4 separate regions of the Homo sapiens genome follow, and regions 1, 3 and 4 are each linked to region 2. The links are contacts of gene promoters, found by promoter capture Hi-C in blood cells and fetal thymus (Javierre and others, 2016). All regions are on one chromosome and are shown on one strand. The core of a region is centred on a gene start or on the middle of the fragment in contact, and the rest is flanking DNA. Distances in the headings are between cores, read along the strand shown.

Region 1 (2,945 bases), core at 11-2,510, 100 kb before region 2:
TTCTTATCATATGGCTACAGAACTGGCAGGCTACTCTCAATTTAGCCCAGTCTACAATCCTCAGAGCCTAAAGATTCTTGGTTCAATTTCCAGAGCTTAAAGATCCTTGCAATGTTAAGGCTGGGCGTGGTGGCTCATGCCCGTAATCCCAAGCACTTTGGGAGGCCAAGGCGGGTAGATCATTTGAGGTGAGACGTTCGAGACCAGCCTGGCCAACGTGGTGAAACCCCCGTCTCTACTGAAAATACAAAAAAGAAAGTTAGCCAGAAGTGGTGGTTCACACCTGTAATCCCAGCTACTCAGGAGGCTGAGTCAAGAGAATCGCTTGAACCTGGGAGGCAGAGGTTGCAATGAGCCCAGATTGTGCCGCTGCATTCCAGCCTGGGGGACAGAGTGAGACTCTGTCTCAAAAAAAAAAAAAAAAAAAAAAAAAATCTTAAGTTGTTCCACTTTGGAAAAAATTGCATATATGAGGGCAGCAGTGCTGCTACTGAAAATCGTTTTTTTAAAGACAGTAGTTTTATGACTGCCTTTACCTACTAAAAGAAATACAGCACATAACAGCCAATGGCTTTACTGCAAGTTATGTTGTTTGAGACATGCACAAAGATTTCCCAGATACCCTCTGTATATCTATTCCATTGTACCAATATCATTCACCTTTCTGGACACAGAAACATGAGACAACATTCAAAAGCTTAAAAGGAGTATGTCATAAAAAGCAAATCTCCCTTTCAATCCTGACCCACAGTCATCCAGTTTCTCTACTCAGAGGCAGATGGCAGTTTCTTTCACACACACTCACACGCACACACACACACACACCGGTATGTGTCCCTGCCTCATGGCACTATCTATACCTATTGCATTCTTTTTAAACTTACCAGAATAAGGTTGAGTCTAAGTAACAAGAATTGTAATGACCCTGGATGCCTTTCTTCTTCCCAATCATTATCTCCAAGCCTTCTTTTTCCATTTTTGGTGGAGTATTTTCTTCTACTACTTCACTTAAGTAGCCTCCAAATGCTGAAAAGATTTTTTTAAAAAAAGTAAATGAAAAGAATTCTTTTAAACTATTACAATATGTATTCCCATAAATATTTTTTCATTTTAAAATGTTTTTGTATTTTGATGCAAAATTTTTTCTTTAAGTGGAAAGTAGGCTTTGGTTAACTGCTATTTGACTTGGCTTATAAAAATTGCTATTGTTCATTTTCAACTTCATTTCCTCCAAGATTTAAAAACACACTTTAGAGTATTATGTGTAAAAAGCATCTGTCAAGTAAAATATGTTTCCCAAATATTTCACTATTTATCTGAAGTTGCTTCACTTTCAAGTTTGAAAAGAAAATGAAAATTCCAAAGTACTATTTCAACATAATAAGAGTGTTTTTCATAAAGATGGCTTTCCTGTTTGCACCTGCTGAAGCCCCAAGATGCTTTTCCACTATTATGTAGAAGTGGAAAGGAACAGCACCAGGAAACTGCCACCAATTACACATGATGAGGAGAGCTGTCCTCCAGCAATCAGTTGAAATCTACTTCTTACACTAAAATGCTGATTTCTTTGTAAGATACACTCACTGCTGTAAACAAGACACTGTGAGGGAAGTCAGTAAAAAAAAAAAAGAAGGTTACATTTCAATTTCTACCACTAGTATTGCTGAAAACTAAATGTCTGTCATCAACAGGAAGAGAAAAACAAACCACACTATTATTCACTTTATAAGTCCCAAACGCACGTCCTAATACTTTTTTAAGATGTCCCCTCTTAAAACAACTTTCTTATACACCATGCAACATTTTTACTGATTTAAAGCTTAATGAGCGTTGGCAAGAAATATATTAAAACACTGTCACCATCACCTAATATAACATGATATGAGATTAGAATTAGAGTCATTCCAGGTTGTTAAGTAAACAAAAAGCATCCAAATACCTAAAGAGTTACAGCGCTCAATCTGATTGGAAACCGGCTGCAATGATGCAAACCTAGAGTCAGGCCTGCAGCTCTTCAGTTTCACAAACAGCGCCTTCTTCAGGGCACAGGTGAAATACCGAGTGCCTCTGAAGGTTCCATCCGTACAGCCTGCACACTCATCTTCCTGAAAAAGAAATGCTTCAATATGCATTATACCGTGCCTTACAGAGATAGTATACAAAGAACTAAGGTTTCTAAGACCTGTTTCTAGTATACCCTTTCTCACCACTCCCTCTTCGCACCTGTACTGAGAACCTCATCAAGAAAAAGGAGTTGAGTAATCAGTGCTTCAGCCCACAGCTACTGATTTAAGAAGTGACTTCCTTAATCCAGCATGAAGTCCTTCTTGTATTTCCTTTCAGAATATATGCTTCAACCTCCCCTGGTTAAACGGGCTTTCCCGCACCATTTCTACAAGCATTAAAACAGGCAGGGAAGGAGAAGGCTATTTATTTTAACCCTCATTCTTGCCTCCCCACCATGCCCCATAAGATAGTATTCACTAGCATGGAAACAAACAAGAAAAAAAAAAAAAGAAATATATTTAAATTGGCCAGGTGTGGTGGCTCATGCCCATAATCCTAGCACTTTAGGAGGCCAAGGCGGGCAGATCACTTGAGTCCAGGAGTTTGAGACCAGCCTGGGCAACATGGCAAAACCCTGTCTCTACTAAAAATACAAAAAATTACCAAGCATGATGGTACATGTCTGTAATTCCAGCTACTCAGGTGACTGAGGCAGGAGAATAGCTTGAGCCCAGGAGGTCGAGGCTGCAGTGAGCCCTGACCGTGCTACTGCACTCCAGTCTGGGTGACAGAGTGAGACCCCATCTCTAAATAAATCCTAAACATACTCAACTTCTCCTTTCCTGATTACAAAATATCAAATGATATGTTCTCCTGATCTCTAAAGGGAAAACCTTTCCCTCTAGCAAAGGTCTCAAAAGATCTCTAAAAATGGTGAT
Region 2 (2,991 bases), core at 236-2,735:
TTAAAATAATTATAATAATGACCATATCAAGTGCAGGTAAGAAGGTGGAGCACCTGGAATTCTCATATACTGCTGGTGGGAATACAAAATGGCACAGCCACTGTGGAAAATATTTGGCGTAATCTAGCACAGTTGAAGCTATCTATACTCTGAGACCCAGCAATTTCACCTCAGATAAGTACATGGACTTGGATAAATGTGTAAGAATATCATCAGTGGCATTGATCATGATGGCCACCCTAGGAACAACCCAAGTGTGCATCAAAAGACAAAACAAAAAATGACAAATGGTGATGTATTTAAATAATGAAGCAACAGAAAACCAAACACAGCATGTTCTCACTCATAAGTGGGAGTTGAACAGTGAGAACACATGGACACAGGGAGGGGAACATCACACGCTGGGGCCTGTCAGGGGTGGGGGCCAGGGGGAAGGAGAGCATTAAGACAAATACCTAATGCATGCAGGGCTTAAAACCTAGATGATGGGTTGATAGGTACAGCAAACCACCACGGCACATATATACCTATGTAACAAACCTGCAGGTTCTACACTGGTATCCCAGAACTTAAAGTAAAATAAATAATAATAATAATGTAGCAACACAACAATGGAAATGAAAAAAAGTATCTACACAGAAATGCATCAGTGAATCTTATACCCATAAATGTTGCATGAAAGAAGCAAGGCACTGGAGAATACACACAGTATGCATGGTTCAATTTATATAAGATTCACAGATGAGTAAAATGAAACTGAATTGTTTGGGGATCTCATAGGTGGTAAATTTCTAAGGAAAAGCCAAGAAGTAACCCCCATCTGAATCAGGACTGTGACTGCCTCTAATAGGGAGGAAGGGAATCATGGCTCAAAAAAAAACACATGGCAAACTTCTGGGCGAGCCAGCAAAGTTCTATTTTTTTTTTTTTTGTCTGATTTCTGTTTCTTGCCTTCAAGGCCACAAAGATGGGTGGGCATGAATCACACCACACTGCCCTGGGGTTTCGCTTCCCTGGGACTTTCTGTTGGTGGTGATGGATACAGCTTTGCTCAGAGAAAAGGCACCAGATGGAACTGTAATTCTACCCCACTGCTCTTCTATGTCAGTCACTGGCTCTGTGTCCCACCAGCTCTGTGATCCAAGCCTCGGTTTTCCCATCTGTTCAAGGGGCATGACGGCCCCCATCATGCCTAGCTCATAGAGTAGAATAATGAATGTTAAAGGGCTCTGGGAGCTAATGCCTGAATTCCAGAGATCAACGGGGACTCGAAGGACAGCCAGACCTCTGCAAGGCGGCAGGGAAAGTGAGGCTGAGCTAAATCCCACAGGGCTGGCCCCACACCGCCTTGCCCTTCCCTGCGCTACCCGGAAGAAGAGGTGGGTACAGCTGGCAGGCTGGCAGTTGAGTTCAATATACCATGTTTCACCAGCCAATGGGCTGGGGCGATCAGAAGCAGGTCACACAGCCTGTTTCCTGTTTTCAAACGGGGAACTTAGAAAGTGGCAGCCCCTCGGCTTGTCGCCGGAGCTGAGAACCAAGAGCTCGAAGGGGCCATATGACACTCCTCCCGGACCCCTGGACACACACAGCCCTGGAGACTGGAGGTCAGTATTTGATCCCAAGCTCAGCTGTCCTCTGCCTGCTGTGGCCTGAGTCCCCTTCTCCTGGGGCCCTGCCTGGCACCTGCTGGGGGCAGGGTGGGAGGGGGAAGAGTTAGTGACAGCCACTGTGTCTGGAGCTCTCCTTAGCACACTGAGGCAGAGGAAGGGACAGCTCCTGGACCTTCCATCACCTCCATTCCTTTTGAAATGCTAGGCGCTTGTACAACCCATCTTGGGCCTGGAGAATAAGTCACCACACCTGTGTTTCTCAAAAGAACAGTGTCAGGGAACCCCTGCCTCAGCACAGCCTTAGAGGACTCATGGAAAATGCAGAATCCAGGCCTGTTCAATGGCACCTTCCTATGTTAGCAGCCAGGAAACCTGCTCTTGGACAAGCCCCTGGGATCCCACCCCCACCCCACCAGGGGATTCTTACACACACTGGGTTGGGAGCCCCTGGCTTTGGCAAGGCTTCTCAGGTGAGCGTCCAGTTGTTGGAGGGTACCCACCCTTTCCCCAAGAGAGGCAGCCACACATCCAACATCCTGGGATCTCTGTCTCCCAGCGTGGGCCATGTGCTTTATTTCACCCCCTAGAGGCTCATCCCCCATGAAAAGTCCTCCGCAGGCCCTCAGAAAGATAGTGTGGCCTCTGTGTGCCCAGCAGAAGAAGGACTGGACTTGGCAGTCAGCTCTTGGAGAGGGGGTGGTTAGGACACCTGGGGACAGGAGGAGGAGAATGACTGTCTGTGCACACACGGCTGGAAGGCAGAGGAGGCTGGGAAGCTGCTCTGTCCCCTGGGCCAACTACAGGCCCCCAGGCCAACAGCAACAACACTTTTAGTATTTTGTTATAAAGTCAAGAAATCTTTGCTACAGAGGGTGAGGAGAGGGAAGGAAAGGGCCATGGAACCGTCTATGTGGCTATCCCCAGAGAGCTTTTAGAGTGACAGGATTGCTTTCCCATTTCACAGATGAGGAAACTGAGGCCTGGAGAGGGATGGGAAGCTACCCAAGGCCCCATGGATACACCAGTGCACAACTCTTTCCTTCCCCCTCCTCTTTAAATGGGTGACTCCCAATGAAACCTGTAAGAGACAACCATAAGGGAGCTGACTGTGGCTGCTGAATTTGATTTTATTCTAAGGCCTGGTTTTATAATCAGCTTTCTCAGTCTTTACTGGAGTGTCAAGCCGAGGCATCATTTCTAGGGTCTTACAGGGTCTCTGGGCCAATAGTGCCCTGCTTCTGACCTGGAGCCAGCTGCCTGGTCATGAAAGCAGATCTGCAAAGGCTGGGGCCCCTGAGGCCAAGGCCACTCGCCATCACCCATTTTACAGAAGTGCTGAGCATAGGAGTGCCCTGGGCCCCCAAGAATCCCAGCCACC
Region 3 (3,184 bases), core at 171-2,670, 120 kb before region 2:
CCAAGCAGATGCAAAATTATCTGGCCAGATAATTTTCAAGATCCAGCTATAGAGGGTAGTGAATCCTGAATCTATGAAGATGCCATGTTCAAACAAGCAGGAATTTGGGTGACAACACAGTTCTATAAGATTAATGGAATCTTAATCTTCCATACTATCTCTCCCCCTTGTTCTCAAAATCTGTGAAAAAAAATAATAAAGGAATCCTAGGGATAGGAAGAATCTGGCCATTTATCTACAGCATTTGGCAAACAGAAATTTTTAAAAATCCTAAATTATTCTAAGGAGAAAATCCTTAGCAACAGTAACAACATATTTAGTTGATTTTTGTTGCTGTTTATCCTAGTTTTCAACGTGTTTTCCTAGTCTTATAAAACATTCTTCTGTGGATGGAGTCAAACTCCTTTATAAAGCTGACAGTGAGGGATGGGACACATTTAGCCTCTCTATGTATGATAACACTGCTCTCCTTCCCCACTCTCTCCCTCTCCGCCACATACATATATACACACACACAGACACACACATATTTATTTGGAGGTGAGGAACATGACATATTTTCTACTTGTAATCATGAATCATGAATCACGAACCGTGTTATAAATAAGATAATTCAATTACATTGTCATCTTGATTGTAGATAAGGAATAAAAGATAACCAAAACCTTTAAATAGCCAACAGGAAAATATTAAAGAAAACTTAAGGCTGAAAATTAAATAACCAGCAGGCACATAAGCCCCTGTGCCATGCAGCCCAGCCCCAACTATGTGCCTCTTGACAAACCAGGCTGTGCTGAAGCACAGAACAGTAGGGGGCTACCCAGAGGGAGCCAGGACAGACAGGTGCAGGGGAAACCTTCCTGCTGCCTCATGACATGCAGAAGCAGGGAAGGACGCAGCCTCCCCAGGAACCACCAGAGCTGGCCCTGGCATCCCTTAATGAGCACTCCCTCCCCAAGTAACATTAAAAAGACGTCAAGCTCCACCTGAAGAAGACGTTGCCAGAAATCATTTATGGATGAGGCCCTCCCATTTAACAGTCTCCACACCTGACTTTTGAAACCAGGTGTCCATCCAAACAGGTCTTCTTCAAGTTCTCTACCATGACAGCCTGGGTAGCAGAGCTTCCTCAATTTGTATTTTGTTTTAATTTCTACAGGAAAGGAACTGTCTTCTCTCTCCTTTTTTTTTTTTTTTTCCAACTGTTAAATCCAGTCTTACCTAGATCGTCAGCCCTTAGTATCTGCAGGGGTTTGGTTCCAGGATCCCTGCAGATACCAACATCTGAAGATGCTCAATTCCCTGATACAAAATGGTACAGAATTTGCATATAACTGACACACATCCTCCTGTATATTTTAATTAAATAATCTCTAGATTACTTATAATACCTAATAAATGTAAATGCTACATAAAGAGTTCTTGTATTGTTCAGAGAATAATGACAAGAAAAAAGTCTGTACATGTTCAATACGGATGTAACCATCCTTTTTTTAAAAAAAATCGTATTTTCCATTTGCAGTTGGTTGAATCCATGGATGAGAAACCTGCAGATACCGAGGGCTGGCTTCATTTAGATTCCTAATCATTCCTCCAGGTAGTCAATTTTTTAAAATCACATTGACAAGCTCATTCACCCATTTCTTCATTCAACACATATTTATTACAGGGTGATTGGACTTCTAGGCTGTCAGAGCTAGAAAAGGCCTTATGCATCTTTTACCCCACACCCTTCATTTTACCCAAGGGAGATGGAGGCAGGGCTAGCCCTAAACCCAGAGTCTCTCAGCCTCACCCCTGATCTAATCATCATCTCACCACCCCAACCAAGCACTTAGCAGTATAAAACCTTGTGCAAAATATATGTACTTTTTCACTTCAAAAATGAAAATATTACAAGATGAGTTTTTGTACCTTACTGTAATTTATAAAGCTAGTAAATATTAGCAAAATGGAATGATAAAACCAAAGAGTAAAAGTGCCTTTAAAAAAGTAATTGCAGGGTTTGTAAAGATTCTTTCCACTTTTTGTCACATTAAATATTTTATAAAGTCATATGACATATACATATGATGACTTTTCTGCCTTTCTGCACAGTTAGAAAGTCATTCAGGAAAGACAATGATACCACAAAACAACACTCAGAGAATGCACATTCCACAGCACTGACATGTATCATCTATGGTCCTGGTCTACAACATCCGCTGTGGTCTAAACACACACTATGGCTGTTATTAAACAAAACATCCCATTTCTACTTACTTTAATCAGAAGGAGGATGAAGCTGCTGCTAACATTTCGATAACATATCTGATTCTATCAAGTGAAACTACACTGAATTTAATGGGAGTACTGGCTGACAGATCAAACTTAAGTTCTAGACAGTCTTGTCTAAAATAATAGAGGTTTAAATATCCATCTCTCCCAGGAAATTGTAATAATTCTATATGCCAAATTCATTTTCTTATGGACTGTATGTTTGTAAAGGACTATTATCACTCCAATTCTTTCATCAATTTACTTTGCCCCATTCCATAAAATATTAATAGTTAAAAGCCTTAAAAAACCTGTTAGCTGACAGTAACTACTATGAATGAAGAGCTTCAACTGCTAAATACCCTAATCCTCCAGGAAAATCACTTCAAAAATGGACATTTGGGGACAGAATCACTCATTTATCTCAAAACCAGAACAAATAGAAAACAACACCATTAAGGGAATTTAAGTATTTTTCTGACCACTATTGCAGAAACACAGAAAAACTGAGCAGATTGTAGACATGCAAGATCAGCAGTATATAGAAAGGATTAACAAATCAAACTCAGTACATCTCTAATAACTGGATTGAGAGTAGACTCTTAATAAAACCAAATTATTTCTTCCTCAAGGCAACCGTTAGCTACAAAAGAAAAATGATTTCATATCCTTGGTCCATAAAGAAGACACATTTATTTACATTCTCAATGGACTAAAAGAGGCTTTAAACTTCCACAATTAAAATTGTATGCTTCCAAAAATATCATATGATCAATGCACTTAACTTAAAGCTTCAGGTATTAATAACTTCATTTAGACTTCTTAAAAAACCAACACAAACATACTTTCTAGAGTGCAAAATGCTTCTTATTAAATACTTCAGGGACACAAAAGCAATTTGTTTTTAAACAGAGGCATCCTTTTCTGA
Region 4 (2,968 bases), core at 349-2,848, 120 kb after region 2:
GCCCAAGCTACTCATGAGGTGAGGCCAACTAGAAGAGAACTGAAGCCCCAGACATGTCACTTATTTGGAGCTGCTGCAGTCAGACCCTTGCTGTTAGAGCCACCCTAACTGTGCTACATGGAGCCACAGACAAGTTGACCCTCCCAGGCTTGGTCCAAAGTGCATACTCTTAAGCAAGTCACAAAGTGATCAAGTCACTAATCTTTGGACTTTTTTTTTTTTTTTACAGCAGTAGAAACAAAGCCTTCTCCTTTCCTTTAATGCATTTTTGAGAGGAGGAAGCAGAAGGCAGGAGAGGTCATAATAGATACCTCATAGCTAAGCTGGAGGCACCCCCAGGCTCAGGGTTCCCAGCGCAGCATTGTGTCCAACCCCTGATGACTGAGCCATGTCTGTGTTTCTCCTGGGATGAAGCTGCTGCTGTTGGCTTCTCAGGGGAGAAGCCATGGGCCCCCCCTCCATGGGACTGCTCATCCTCTTCATTCCCTAAGCAAAGGGAGTGAGCCAGCAGCAAGCACCCACAGCATCCCTGGGAGCACTGACCCAGGCCCAAAAGTCAACAAACCAAACAGCTCAGAAAGCACAGAGAGGTCAGGAAAGTTGCCCTAGGTCACACTGCTAGTGAGAAGTAGAGCCAGGGCTCAAAACCAGGCATTCAGGCTCAGGGCCTGCACCAGTGACCCACACCAGCGTTTTTCTAATACTCTGATTATGACCTATAGTAAGAATTATATTTTACAATATGCCTCTGCTGTAGATAGATAGATAGATAGATAGATAGATAGATAGATAGATGGGTTTGGGTATAGGTGTGTGTAAAGTGTGTGTATACATTTTTTTTAACTAGAACAAAAAATTACACAAAACAATATTTACTCTTACTATATATAATGTTTTCTCATATTTTTACTCTATTTCATTTTGGTCACTAAATTGATGTCATGAACCATGAATGGGGCTGAGACATACAGTTGAAAAAAAAAAAAAAACTCGCCTAAACTGATTTAAGATGGCTCTAAAATCACACTGAGTGATCTGAATTTGAATCTTGCTGAAGCAAGATTCCACTTCCAAGTTAAGTGACCTTGGGCAATATGGTTGACTTCTTTAAAGCCTCAGTTTCCCTATGGGTAAGATGGGCATAATAATAACAGCGGCCTCATAACAGTGCTCTGAGAATCCAGCACTATGAACAGTGCTTGGCCCAGAGCCTGGCACACAGCAGACACGCAGCAAGCAGCAGCTACGCTGTTACCACCTCCTCCTCGGGCTGCAGCTCCCAGACTCAGCACGGGGCTATGCACACAGTGGGCAGCTCGCGGGCACACTGAGCCTGCAGCCACTGAGAAAGCAGGCACGTGCCCAGGACCAGCTGAGGCAGTGGGTGCCTTTGGACTTTCCAGGGCAGGGAGGAAGCAGAGAAAGTCCCCAGTGCCCGCTGAAAAGGCAACTTTGTTCCTGGATTATAGTAGTTCTCTTCAATCATCTTTTTGCCTTTGAAGGGGGAAAGAAGGGTAAAACAACAAAGTCAGGGTCAAAAACTGTCCTGGAACAAGGCTCCCTCTGGAAACCAGGCATGGAATGGGCATGGCACCACACACCAGCACCCCCAAACCCACTCACTGGAGCCACCGCAAGCCGAGGCCTCTGAGTGAGGGGCCCACCAGCCCACGCAGCCTTCTGAAGTTAGAAAAACATCCTCCGGCCTGAGCCCATTAGGGAGGCTGTGGCCTGAGGGAAGACAGCCCCATCCTGCTAACAGGGTCCTTTTATGCTCTGCCTCTCCCCTCCTCAGGACCCCAGCTCTATGCTCAAGGCCAGAAGGCTTGGGCAGCCCAGCAGGCCAGCCAATCCGCTCCAGGGTGACACTATTTCTTGTGACTGAGAGGTTCTCCTCCCTACCTCTTCCAACCTGACCAGAAAGCTGGAGTCCACAGACACCAGTAACACTTCATGGAAGACTTGCGGCAAGGAGACAAGGCCTCATGACGGGATGCAACATACAGTGGTACCACCCAGCCCAGCAGGCACTGCCCACTCCCTGCTGCTGCACCACATAGTTCTGCTCTAACACCTCAGAGACTGGAATGTGGTTCCAAGTCAGACACCGAGAAGGAGGCTGAACACTTTCTCTGTGCACCAACCCTGCATGCCTCTTGCCCTTTGCACATCCCGTGCCTTCTGCCTGGAATATTTTTAATAAACCTTTCCCCACCTAGCTATTTCCTATTTATTCTTTGGGTCTTAACGACTTACGCATCACTCCCTAATCTGAAGTAGAATCCTCCGTTATTCTCCTTCCCCATCCTTTTCCTTCACTGCACTTAGCACACTGGTACCACACTGAGCACACATCCAGGTGATCACTAGCAAACAACACTGGCAAGCTGCAAAAGAAGGGGTGACATCTCCTTTATTCTTTAACTTGCTGAAATGAACCCATTTCTACCCTTAAAACAACCCAATGAGGTAGGAACCATTACTCTACCCATTCCACAGATGTGAAAACTGAGAATCAGAGATGAGCCATCACTTGGCCCAAGGCCACCGAGCTGGGGAGAAGTGCAGCTGGGACTCAGACCCAGGAAGTCTGATTCTGCAAGTTCTAAGCACACCTCTGGCACCTTCTATGGGCACATGCTGGTCTTCAGCATAAAGTCTCCCAGCCCACATCTTTGTTTTGTTGTTTGTTTGTTTGTTTGTTTGTTTGAGACAGAGTTTCACTCTTGTCACCCAGGCTGGAGTGCAATGGCACGATCTTGGCTCACTGCAACCTCCATCTCCCGGGTTCAAGGAATTCTCCTGCTTCAGCCTCCCAAGTAGCTGGGATTACAGGTGCCTGCCACCATGCCCGGCTATTTTTTTTTTCTTTCTTTTCTTTCTTTTTTTTTTTTTTTTTGTATTTTTAGCAGAGACGGGGTTTCGTCATGTTGGCCAGGCTGGTCTCAAACTCCTGACCTCAGGTGAT

The links. Contacts are between HindIII fragments. The CHiCAGO score rates a contact against its expected background, and 5 or more counts as called.
Region 1: a contact is called between a fragment that was not itself captured here and the fragment with the promoter of SNX20 in region 2, in 5 of 17 cell types (activated CD4 T cells, non-activated CD4 T cells, total CD4 T cells and 2 more). The highest score is 8.6, in activated CD4 T cells.
Region 3: a contact is called between a fragment that was not itself captured here and the fragment with the promoter of SNX20 in region 2, in 6 of 17 cell types (neutrophils, activated CD4 T cells, non-activated CD4 T cells and 3 more). The highest score is 12.2, in neutrophils.
Region 4: a fragment that was not itself captured here is called in contact with the fragment with the promoter of SNX20 in region 2 in 3 of 17 cell types (total CD8 T cells, non-activated CD4 T cells and naive B cells); the score reaches 6.0 in total CD8 T cells.

The regions. Positions count from the first base shown.
Region 1 is chr16:50,780,406-50,783,350 of GRCh38, reverse strand. CYLD (CYLD lysine 63 deubiquitinase) reads right to left here. Exons shown (of 19, transcript NM_001378743.1): 10 at 1,940-2,105; 11 at 885-1,026. Among named protein-coding and RNA genes, the nearest start is that of CYLD-AS2, 21 kb to the left of the region's middle. The HindIII fragment of the contact is 1,122 bases long and covers 700-1,821 here.
Region 2 is chr16:50,679,806-50,682,796 of GRCh38, reverse strand. SNX20 (sorting nexin 20) reads left to right here and starts at 1,485. Exons shown (of 4, transcript NM_182854.4): 1 at 1,485-1,607. The HindIII fragment of the contact is 15,976 bases long and covers 1-2,991 here.
Region 3 is chr16:50,796,629-50,799,812 of GRCh38, reverse strand. It overlaps CYLD (CYLD lysine 63 deubiquitinase), which reads right to left. Exons shown (of 19, transcript NM_001378743.1): 19 at 1-3,184. All of the region lies in intron 2 of CYLD-AS2 (CYLD antisense RNA 2), which reads left to right. Among named protein-coding and RNA genes, the nearest start is that of CYLD-AS2, 5.1 kb to the left of the region's middle. The HindIII fragment of the contact is 3,258 bases long and covers 1-3,049 here.
Region 4 is chr16:50,558,651-50,561,618 of GRCh38, reverse strand. All of the region lies in intron 3 of NKD1 (NKD inhibitor of Wnt signaling pathway 1), which reads right to left. Among named protein-coding and RNA genes, the nearest start is that of NKD1, 12 kb to the right of the region's middle. The HindIII fragment of the contact is 5,014 bases long and covers 1-2,968 here.